Regions from separate parts of the Homo sapiens genome. Here regions 2 and 3 are each linked to region 1. The links are contacts of gene promoters, found by promoter capture Hi-C in blood cells and fetal thymus (Javierre and others, 2016). All regions are on one chromosome and are shown on one strand. The core of a region is centred on a gene start or on the middle of the fragment in contact, and the rest is flanking DNA. Distances in the headings are between cores, read along the strand shown.

The links. Contacts are between HindIII fragments. The CHiCAGO score rates a contact against its expected background, and 5 or more counts as called.
Region 2: a contact is called between a fragment that was not itself captured here and the fragment with the promoter of KCNE5 in region 1, in 1 of 17 cell types (neutrophils). The highest score is 6.6, in neutrophils.
Region 3: a contact is called between a fragment that was not itself captured here and the fragment with the promoter of KCNE5 in region 1, in 1 of 17 cell types (neutrophils). The highest score is 5.6, in neutrophils.

What each region holds. Positions count from the first base shown.
Region 1 is chrX:109,623,252-109,627,023 of GRCh38, reverse strand. KCNE5 (potassium voltage-gated channel subfamily E regulatory subunit 5) reads left to right here and starts at 1,852. Exons shown (of 1, transcript NM_012282.4): 1 at 1,852-3,324. The coding sequence starts at 2,004. The coding sequence ends at 2,432. The HindIII fragment of the contact is 6,764 bases long and covers 1-3,772 here.
Region 2 is chrX:110,400,969-110,404,740 of GRCh38, reverse strand. The region is part of intron 1 of RTL9 (retrotransposon Gag like 9); the gene reads right to left. It also overlaps a transcript of AMMECR1 not described here. Among named protein-coding and RNA genes, the nearest start is that of RTL9, 44 kb to the right of the region's middle. The HindIII fragment of the contact is 3,744 bases long and covers 315-3,772 here.
Region 3 is chrX:110,151,717-110,155,488 of GRCh38, reverse strand. The region is part of intron 5 of TMEM164 (transmembrane protein 164); the gene reads right to left. Among named protein-coding and RNA genes, the nearest start is that of SNORD96B, 71 kb to the left of the region's middle. The HindIII fragment of the contact is 797 bases long and covers 1,796-2,592 here.

The sequences.
Region 1 (3,772 bases), core at 603-3,102:
TAGATTCTCATAAAGAGCATGCAATTGTAGATCCATGGCATGCGCAGTTCACAATACGGTTTGAGCTCTTCTGAGACTCTAATGCCACTGCTGATCTGACAGGAGGTGTAGCTCAGGCGATAATGCTCACTTGCCCTCTGCTCACCTCTTTCTGTGCGGCTGGTTCCTAACAGGCCAAGGTCCAGCAGCCTGGGAGGTTGGGGACTCCTGTTTTAACAGATAAGAGAAGTCTTTTTAGCTCAACAGTCATATCACTAGGTTAGCAGTGCTTTGAAAATTCTCTGGCTGTGTCCTCTGGCATTCATCCTGCCAAGTTGCTTTAACAATTCTTTCCTGAGGCCCTCTGAGGTGAGAATATTGAGGCAAGGTGATTAGAAGGGAGCCAGTGTCAGGGTCATGTGGAATGTCTCTGAGGCCTGTTTAGAGGCTGTGAAGCAAGGCTCTGTTTGAGACCCTGGATACAGTTTGGTGCCAACCTCACCTGAACACACAGAAGGCTACAGCCCCTGGGTGGATGGTGGGCTGAAGAACGGTTGGGGAAGAGGCATCGGAAAACCTTCCTTTTTTAACCCATGGCACCTATAGATTGAATGGTCCCTGGACTGAACGGTCTTGAACAGGCAGCATTATTTTCAAGGTGTGCCTAAGGTCATACACTTTTCTTGCTTTCTGCTCTCATTTGGCAACTATGGACAACCAGACCTAGCCAGCACTACCTCATTTTTTCTACCCCACCATCTACAAACCAACCCTTTTCCTTTGTGAAGCTCAGTCTGTTTCCAATTTAACATATCTGGCCTGATCTTTGTCTTGGTGCCTTGTTTTCCCCTAAAAAAAGACAGCCTTTGAGAAAAAAATGGCTGCCCTAAAAGCCATTAGGGCCTAGACCTGTTACCAAGTCTAGAGAGGCACACAGCTGTTTGCTGGCCTAACTGGGAGTAGGGTGAGCATATTCTCTAGAACTGGCACTTTTCAGATCCCGAGATATCCACAGAGTGTAGTCAAAGGGCCTTTTAAAATGTGCATGCTACTCTTATTGGAAGAACTTGGTTTCACTTCTGGGAAGATGGCTTACTTACCCATGGGAAACAGGCTCCCATTATGAATAGTACATTCATGTGCTAAGATGTGTTGACTTTTCAAAAAGTGTCATAGGACATCAGAGCAGGGGTGCTTCCAAGAAGGTGTAATATCACTTATATCACCAGAAACCATTTTGGATAACCAGGGAGTTCTACTCTGCCTTGGCCTTCTAGCAGGTGCCTGAGCACTCAGTCACCAAATTCAGCCTGAGCATCTTCTGAATAAGATGCTCTCCTCCGACAAGGTGGGAGGGGGGTGAAAAGGGGGGCGGGGGGAAAAGGAAAGGAATGAGGACTAGAAAGATAGGCCTGGGTCCCTGTATATGGGAGTAACTTCCATAAAATGTGGACAAGGGGTCTCTGCTGCGGAAAGGCGTCTGCCCTCTCCCTTGAGCGCCCCAAGGCAGAGCTGCCTTAGGGGGCCAAATGCTGTATCTGGGCCAAAGCCTGGCCTGCAGGGCAGGTGGCCAGAACTTGGAAGGAATTCTCTTCCGCAGCCCAGGGTCCAGGCTTGGCCCCAGCAAGCTGCCCTGCCAGCGTCTGCTGCCTGGGGCCTCGCGCATTCCGAGCCCCCGCCCCCTCCGCCCGTCTCCCAGCCTCGCCCCCACTCTTGTCCCCTTCTCCTCCCCCCACCAGCTGTCCCCTTTCCCTGGAGCAGCGAGACAGCCAGAGCCTGGGAAGAGGCGGCCGCGGGCCGGAGGGGGCGTGGTGGGGAAGGGGAGGAGGGGCGGGAGTGAGGGAATAAGGAGGCCCCGCCGTCGGCGCCCCCAGCCACTGCGCGCTCGCCGGAGAGCTGGGTGCTACCGCTGTTTCCGCTGCTGAGCCCTGCCCGCCGGCCGGCCCGCTCGCTAGCTCGCTTCCCCTCGCCCAGGGGGAAAGGTCAGCAGCGTCCTGGAGCCGCCGTGTCACTCCCCGAAAGCCATGAACTGCAGCGAGAGCCAGCGGCTGCGAACCCTTCTGAGCCGCCTGTTGCTCGAGCTGCACCACCGGGGTAATGCCAGCGGCTTGGGCGCTGGCCCTCGTCCCAGCATGGGCATGGGGGTCGTGCCTGACCCTTTCGTGGGCCGCGAGGTGACCAGCGCCAAGGGCGACGACGCCTATCTCTACATCCTGCTCATCATGATCTTCTACGCCTGCTTGGCCGGAGGCCTCATCCTGGCCTACACCCGCTCCCGTAAGCTCGTCGAGGCCAAGGACGAGCCGTCCCAGGCTTGCGCCGAGCACGAATGGGCCCCGGGAGGCGCCCTGACCGCCGACGCCGAGGCTGCCGCGGGCTCCCAGGCCGAGGGCCGCCGCCAGCTTGCCTCCGAGGGGCTGCCTGCCCTCGCCCAGGGCGCTGAGCGGGTCTAAAACCACAGCCCCAGATTGCTGGTTCGCGCCCTCCTCATCTCGCTCATCCCTGGGCGCGCCTCCCACCTTCCACCCCCAACTCCCTTCCAGGGTTCGCCTCATCTGAGGCCCAGATAATGGTGAGAGGCCAGGAGACCTTGTCTGGAAGGCCCTGGAAGGAGAAGCACCACCTTACCCATTCGGGCCAGTTTCTCCCTCTTCACCCCTGCGCCTCCACCCCTACCCCGCACATCCAACTGCACTAAACTGCCTCTGCTCTCTTGTCTTCAGACAGCCCTGACAGCACGCTCCAGCCCTCTGGGAACTGAATCCAACACGTCCAACACTTGGCACTGAACTGAAGCAATGCATTCTATCAGAACTCTGGGCCGTCTAACTGGCAGCTGCTCCAGGGGCTGCCAGGGACTGCTCACTCTGCAGAGCCAACGGGCTTGCCAGGCCGACTGCAGCAGCTCCAGCTTCCAGTTGCCTTAGGGACAGAGACAAAGGAAATGAAGAGACCTCAGACATCTTTTCCCTCCCTCTCTCTTTCAGCAGGGAGCTAGCAGGACACTAGGACCAGTCTGTGGGATAGAATGAACTTAATGGGGGACGGAAGGGGGAGGAGTGCTCAACGGGGAGGGAAATGATCTATGACTCCAACCGTATGATTTTCTTGCCTCCCCAGTTTTCATCCCAGTGGTAACGCCTGATTTTTGGTAGCTATGCCATCTTCTGCTGAGGATTACCATTACTGGGTGTATCACCCCAGTACTTCCAAATGCCTCTCCTCTATTGATTCAGTTGTTATTGCAGTGTCTGCTTCATCCGTGGAACTTGAGGCTCAGATGCCCCCTGCTCTGTAACCCTGGGGAATGTCAGAGGCAGGTAATAAAGGTTGTTTAAACAATAACGCAAGACTCTTCTCTCAGAGATTCCAGCCTTAAGACCCAGTACCATATGGAGAAGGAATCCTTTTTCTTTTGCTTTTGGAAATGATGTTTGGATTTGGGGGTTGGGTGGTTGTGATATTTATATCTATGTAACCAGTTCCAATTTGATATGTGTGATTATGGGTGAAGAAAATGTTTATATGGCTAAATGGGTTGTTTTTTCAAGTGTTTCAAAAGTTATACCTACTTTATTACTTATCCCTCCTTTTTTCTTATTTCTGAAGCACTTTCAAAGATCACAATGCAGTCTTTCAGGATGCACTTTAAAAAACCTTTAAGGCCCATCCCTTTTAGCTATTATCAAACCTAATTTTTAGAAGCCACCTTAATAATTGTTTTTATTTTACTTTTTTTGAGACAGAGTCTCACTGTGTCACCCAGGCTGGAGTACAGTGGCACAATCAAGGC
Region 2 (3,772 bases), core at 937-3,436, 780 kb before region 1:
CTCCCTGAATTTAATGGGAAGTGGTCAGAAATGGCCTTTAGCAACCTTATGAGAGAAAAGGCACATGATGCGCACAAACAAGGCCGGTTCTCCCAAGGTAAAAATAATAGGCTGAGGTACCGTAATTATCAACAGTGGTTTTTGTATACAGGTGCCTACTGCATGTGTTACCTGTTGCTTTCAGCTTTCGTAATTACAGTTTCTTATGATCAGACAGTGCTATTTTCCCTTCCTATTACCAACCAGCATGCTCAGGTGAAAGTTGTTCATGCCCCTGGAGTTTGTCCTGCGAGTGTATTTTTAAAGGCAAAGCTTCTTAGCCCAGCCAAATGAAACTGATCGGAAAAGCACCATAGAAACCAGAGGCCTATTATGTGTAATAGCTGGGCTCTTTGCAGCCCTATCCTAAGCACTAGGCCACAATTTCGGAAGGAAAGAACCTGTAAAGACTTCAGAAGACAGCAATGAAGACGATTAAGGGATTGGAAAAGAGGATCTAGGGGAAAAGGTTAAAGGTATTAGGATTATAAGGACGATTTAGCCTCAAGAGGAAAAAAAATGAAGGAGCCTGACCAACTGTTCTTCCTCGCTATTGATGGCACAGAATAAACGAATGGTAGCATGACGTACTTTAGTTTAGATGTAAGAAAGAACATGACAACAAGTCTCCGGAATCACTAAAGACTGTTCGTTCTTCATTCCTAAAACATTAGTCGAGCTTCCACCCCATGCTGGACTGTGTGCTGAGCACTGGAGAAGAAGTTCACAGGCTAATGAGGGAGACATGCCAAACAGATCATTATAAGACAGTGGGAGGCTTAGTATAATTGAAGGAATTCAGAATGCTTTGGACTTTTAAAAGGCGATTGGGTGTATACAGCACATATATATCACCTCCAGTGGGGTCTGAGGCAGTACCCAGTAATCAAGTACATTGATATTTCTGGAGCAAAAACACATGAATATTCACACAGGGTGTGAAAAATAAAGACTATAAATAACCTCATGTCAGTTCAAGTTGCGCTGCCAAATGAGTTTGTCATAAACGTACAAAGGCTCTCAGTTTCCAGAGCTTTTGGGGTTTTGGAATGATAGCTATGAGGCTATGAGTCTGGGTAAGGGGAGTCTGGCCAAGCACCAAGACCTGGGAATGACAGGGAGCTTCAGAATGTGGGCAGAGCCTGTGTCTCTAATGTGCCCCAATTCTGCTGCCCTGGTATCATGGACGTGTTTGGAGAAGGATCCGGGCATGTGCATGTGTGTGCGCGCATGCGTGTGTGTGTGTCTGTCTGTCTGTCTGTGTGTGTCTGTGTATACAGCAGGAGGAAGCTCCTTGCTGCTCCTCAGGTCAAGTCCACTTTCAGTGGCTCCTAGCAACATACTTTGAAGGAATGAGGTCTTTATTAACCAAATAATCAGTAAATGGGTTTTGTTATTGTTTTCAAATTATTTAGCTCCATAGTACCTATGAATATGCCCACAAATTTTGTAGAATAAGCATCCTCTGTGAGGTTTGCAATGTGTGGTAGAATCCCTGGGGCTGGGGGGTGTCACATCTCTGGCCTTCCTTTTTCAGCTGTGTTCTGTGAAGAACAGGGGCAGGGAAAGCCTGGCCTCTCAACTCCCTCTCTCATACCTACTCCCAAGGATGGCAGGGCCTGCCTAGCAAGTGATAAAGAAAGCTGAAAAGCCTACAGGGAGGGGCACCTGAGCTTCTGCTTATCTGGATTGGGGAACACCCAATTATCCTCTACCAGCCAAGCAGCTTCACGTAGGGGCTAACCTCCCTTAAAGGGGAACACCCAGTGAACCCTGTCACACCCTCAGAAGTTGTTTGCTTCCTGAAGAAAAGGGGGCAGTCCTTGAGTTCATTCTTCTGTTCCTAATCATGAAAGGAGACACCCCCCTTTCAGGACCTATTTTCTTTTGTCACTTACCCCCAACCATCACCTACACCTAAGCTCAAAAAATAACTAAAGCCCTCTTTTTGTCTTTAGACCTCCCTCCAAAAGCATGTCCTTCTCTCTGGACTGGTCCTCCTCTCCACCCTCTGGGAATCCAAGCCCACATCATTTCAGGATGAGATCAGCCTCCAGCCACTCCCTCTGAGGCCTGGCTTCCCAACCTTGGTGATTCCAAAGCACACATCTGTTGCAACACACAGGGCTCGCCCCTAGGCAAAATGGAGCCGGGGACACAGCTCTCAGTCAGCTGAGCTCCCACACTCACATACCCCATCCATGCTAGCACAGCCTTCCTCTTCCGTGGGGAGTAGGCTCCCTGGAACCCTTCCGTCTCCTCTCCCTGACAGGAAAGGCTCTGATCAAGGAATTTGCACTCAGATATAAATAATAACCCTGCCTTACCAAGGCAACCCTGACAGACAAACCTTGCAATTTGACTCAAAGGAATTGTATGCCGACCATGACGGTTTCTGGCATCACTCATAGGCAAAAAACAAATATTTATAGGCAAGGTGAGCCTTCTTCATGCTCATCAGATTATGATGTAGGGCTGCCAAGGCAGCTCTTGTCTTCTTGATCTAAGATAGACCATAGCAACATTCCTCAGAGCAAGGGACTCTGTTTCACTCTGTTTTCCGATTCAAATCAGGTCATGCAGTTTGATATCAAGAGAGATTATCTGAAATTGGGATTGACCTGGAAAGTGTGGGACAGAGGGTTGCCAAAGGTTGAGCGTACTGGTGGGAGGGAGTTGGGAAAGGAAAGGGAGACTTTGAAGAAAGAGACTTGTTGGTGAGAAGAGGAAAAGAGAAACAAGGAAGCGAAGAGAGACCTGGATGGTTATGGGGGTGAGGCAGAAGACTACTAAAAATTGATTTAAGGGAACAGTTAACATTTTTACATGCTTATTTTGTACTGGACACCGTAAGTGTGTTATCTCATGTCATCCTCACAACACGTCTAGGAGATGAGAACTATTATTAGATCCATTTTACAGGGGAGGAAACGAAGGCTCACTGAGATTAACTGTGGGAAATCATGCAATCAGTGAATGGCAGAGCCAAGATTCAAATGCTTATTGATCTGACTCCAGGGCCCTCAGCCATCTGAGAAAGGGGCCAAACACCCTTTGGTTGTAGGAGAAGCCTCCATGGTGTATCTTGATAGAGGCCCCCAGACAACCCCTTCCCCTTACCACAACACAGAAACACCTACATGCCTCCCGTGGGAGCTACCTGCTCCTAAGCTAAAGATTGCTTTCTGGGAAGGCACCAATAAATATAATATGTGCTCTGGAAAAGGTTAGGTTAAGGCAGTTTACCTTCAGAAAACACAAACCAGAGGTCAAGGTCTTAGAGGAGTTAGGAAGGAGAAGCTCTCAGCAGGATGGGCTGCCTGTAGGAGCCATAGTAGGTGTTGCAGCATGTAGGTGGCACTGTAGTACTGAGTCCCCGAGACACACTGGGAGTCTGAAGACACTAAAGACAAACTTGGCTTATTTCACCATTTTGCCCAGAGCTGACTCTGCTCACCATACACACAAGCGAGGGAAGAGTGCACAGTGCAAGGGAGCTGATGCAGGTATTGGAGCCTACGTTCAAATCCTAGCTTTGCAGCCTACTTGCTATGTATCTTTGTTACTCCTCTGAATGTGGCAAGTCACTGGTCTGAATTTTCCACTTTCATCTGTAAAACGAGGATGAAAATAAAAACATCGACTTGAGACGTGAGATTGTTTGTGTAAATGGTTCAGCACAATGTCTGGCACTTAAAAGAAATTCATTAAATATCATGTCCACCTACCCTGC
Region 3 (3,772 bases), core at 945-3,444, 530 kb before region 1:
AGGATGTTGCCTACATTTTTTGCTTTGGTAGTGGATGGAGAGTAGAGCCACTAACCAAGACAGGAAACAGAGGAGGAAGACAAGCAGGATGAGAGAAGGGGTACAGAAATGAGGAGTCTAATTGTTATTTTTGAAGTACCTGTACTGCTTCTCAAGCCTGTGTTATCTCTATTGATGAAGAACACCAGGATCTATGGGGCAGGCAGAGCAAAAGAGCCCAAGGAGAAAGAACCAGAGAAGTAGGAGAACCAGGAGAAAGAGGTACCCTGGAGCTCAAAGGAGAAACAAGTGTCTCAAAGGAGGGAGGACCAGTAATGTTACATCCACTGACAAGCATGCTCTCAGTTCATGCAAGGTTCTGCGGCTTTAGAACACAGCAAGGCACAATCCTGACCTCTAGAGACGGCAGTCTAGTTGGAAGAAAGATGAATAATTAACACAAGGCAGAACAGTGGGTAATTAATAATTATACAAACCCAATACATAGTATTTACTATGTGCCAGTCATTGTTCTGTATACTCTTCATGTATCAGCTCAGTGAATCCTCATAACACCCTATGAGGTAGGTACTATTACTACCCTCATTTTGCAAGTGAGAAAACAGACACAGAGAGGTCAAGGTACTCGACCAAATGCCAGAACTAACTAGCAAGTGGGATAACTAGGATTTGTACCTACAGTCTGTCTGAATCCAGCGACTCCATGGACAGGCAGCATAGAGGCATCTCTGCCCACCTGGTTTCAAACACCAGTTTAAACTCTAGTGCAGGCCAGGCACAGTGGCTCATGCCTATAATCCCAGCACTTTGGGAGGCAGAGGCAGGCGGATCACTTGAGGCCAGGAGTTCCAGACCACCCTGGCCAACATGGTGAAACCCTATCTCTACAAAAAATGCAAAAACTAGCCGGGCGTGGCAGCATGTGACTGTACTTCTAGCTATTCTGGAGGCTGAGGTGCGAGAATTGATTGAACCCGAGAAGCAGAGGTTGCAGTGAGCCAAGATCAGGTCACTGCACTCCAGCCAGGGTGACACAGTGAGTATCTGTCTCAAAAAAATAAAAATAAAATAAACTCTAGTAAAGGGACTCCTAACCTTGGTGGTACTATGCACTCCTTGGGCAGTCTGGGGAAGTGTAAAGGCTCTCTCTCAGAATAAAGTATTTAAGTATACGAAATAGAATATATAGGATTATAAAAGAAAATAATCATGTTGAACTATAGTTATCAAAATGCTTTTAAAAGGCACATCTGTTTTTAAATTTTGAGGTAATGATGAATGCCAATGATTTTTTGAGATATCTGCAACAACTCTAACATAAGAGGAAAATAAGTGTAATTTACATTAACAACAGCATGCCAAGTGCTGCTAATGTAACTGTGGTTTGTTATCTACATTCCTTACTAAAGGATATACCACAAAGTCGGCCCTCCATATCTGCAAGTTCCGCATCTGTGGATTTGACCAACCACAGATCAAAAATATTTTTTAAAAATGAAAATAACAATAGTAAAAAAAAATACAAATAAAAAACAGTATAACAACTATGTATATAGCATTTACATTGTATTAGGTATTATGAGTAATCTAGAGATGATTTAAAGCAGGGATGTCCAATTTTTTGGCTTCCCTGGGCCACATGGGAAGGAGAATTGTCTTGGGCCACGCATAAAATACACTACTGATAGCTGATGAGCTGAAAAAAAATTTTTTTCAAATATAATGTTTTAAGAAAGTTTACAAATTTGTGTTGGGCCACATTCAAATCCATCCTAGGCCACAGGTTAGACAAGCTTCCTTTAAAGTATACAGGAGGATGTGTGTAGGTTAGATGCAAATACTACGTCATTTACATTAGGGACTTGAGCATCCTTGGATTTTGGTATTTGTGGTGGGGGAAGTCCTAGAACCAATTCCCCATGGATACCGAGAGATGACTGTATTTCAGTTGCAGTTAATGGACATAAAGATGTGATTATTTTTCTCATTCAAGGTCATGGGCCTCACGTGATGTACTCCCATAAGTCTAGTGGACACTGTGGGAATTAAATGAGATCAAGATCACACATGTAACAAACCCAGTGCCTAGTAAACATTAGCTTGTAAGATGTATAATAAATTATGTGCAATTTGCAGTACAGGAATACATCCCTGAATAGAAGGTCATTCATTCATTCATTCATCACCTACATACCAAGAAGAAATGAAAAATTCCTGTCCTCAGGGAGACCAGCATGTAAAGACTATACTGTGAGGATGACAAAAATGGGAGGAACAGAGGCAGCTGGCGGGAGCTGGGGTAGAATAGTTACAGAGGGCTTCTTGGAGAAAGTAACTACTGACATGAGTTTTGACAAATGAATGTTTCTAGGCCCACAGCTGGAGAAGAGCATTCCTGGCAGAAATCACAGCATTTTCAAAGGCACAGAGGCATGAAAATTGGATAAAATACTCAGGGAACCCCAAGGATTTGGGTATCACCACAGTGTACAGTATAAAGAAGGGAGTGTAAAGACATGAGGTTGGAGAAGGGGTTGGGTATCAGGTCATACGGTCTTGTGCACTGGGGAAGATGGGGGGCCACTGAAAGCTTCCAAATGACAAAGAGCTATGATCCTATTTGAGCTATAGAAGTAGCTCCAGGAATGGGCTTAGGGGGAGCAAAGGAGGCTGGCTGGAGAGAGATCACACAGAGCCAATTATCATCATTGAGGGAAGAGATGTGCAAGGCTTGGCCCAAGGTACTGGTCCTAGAGATGGTAAGGAGAGGATGAGTCTGAGAGATATTTAGGAGGTAAGAGCAGGAGGACCCAGTGATTTCTCCACACAGCAGCCAATATGATCTTCTCCACAAGCAGATTGGATCATGTTGGACTATTTAATAAACAGTGTGGGGACAAATGGGAAGCCAGCTGGAAATAAAGTTGGATCTTTATCTTGCACTGTATATCAGGATATATTCCAAGTGAATAAAAGACTTAAATGTAAAAAATAATAATAAAAGGAACTATAAACATACCAGAAGAAAATATGGGATATATATTTTTTATAACCTTGGAGTAGTAAAGGGCTTTCTAACCATGACTCTAAATTCAGATGCCATAAAAGATAAATTACATAGAAAGGTAAAAATTCAGCTGGGCAGGGTGACTCATGCCTGTAATCCCAGCACTTTGGGAGGCCGAAGTGGGCAGATCACGAGGTCAAGAGATCAAGACCATCCTGGCCAACATGGTGAAACCCCGTCTCTACTAAAAATACAAAAATTAGCCGGGCGTGGTGGCACGTGCCTATAGTCCCAGCTACTTGGGAGGCTGAGGCAGGAGAATCGCTTGAACCCGGGAGGCGGAGGCTGCAGTGAGCTGAGATCACGCCACTGCACTCCAGCCTGGCAACAGAGTGAGACTACGTCTCAGACAAAAAAAAAAAAAAGAAAAGAAAAGAAAAAAAAAAGAAGAAGAAAAAGAAATTTTAAAATCCTGCATGGCAAGAATAAAACATTAGCAAAGTCAAAAGAAAACACAACTGAGGACAATATCTGTAGCTCATATCATAAAGGGTAAACTGTTAATATTTATATGTAACAAGCTCTTAGGATTCAAATTTTGTAAAAAGGCCAACACAATTGAACAATGAGCATGTGATAGGAGCATGTAGTTCAAGGAAGAGGAAATCAAATGCCAATTTTATTTTATTTTATTTTGTTGAGACTGAGTCTCACTCTGTTGCACAGGCTGGAGTGCAGTGGCACAATCTCGGCTCACTGCAACCT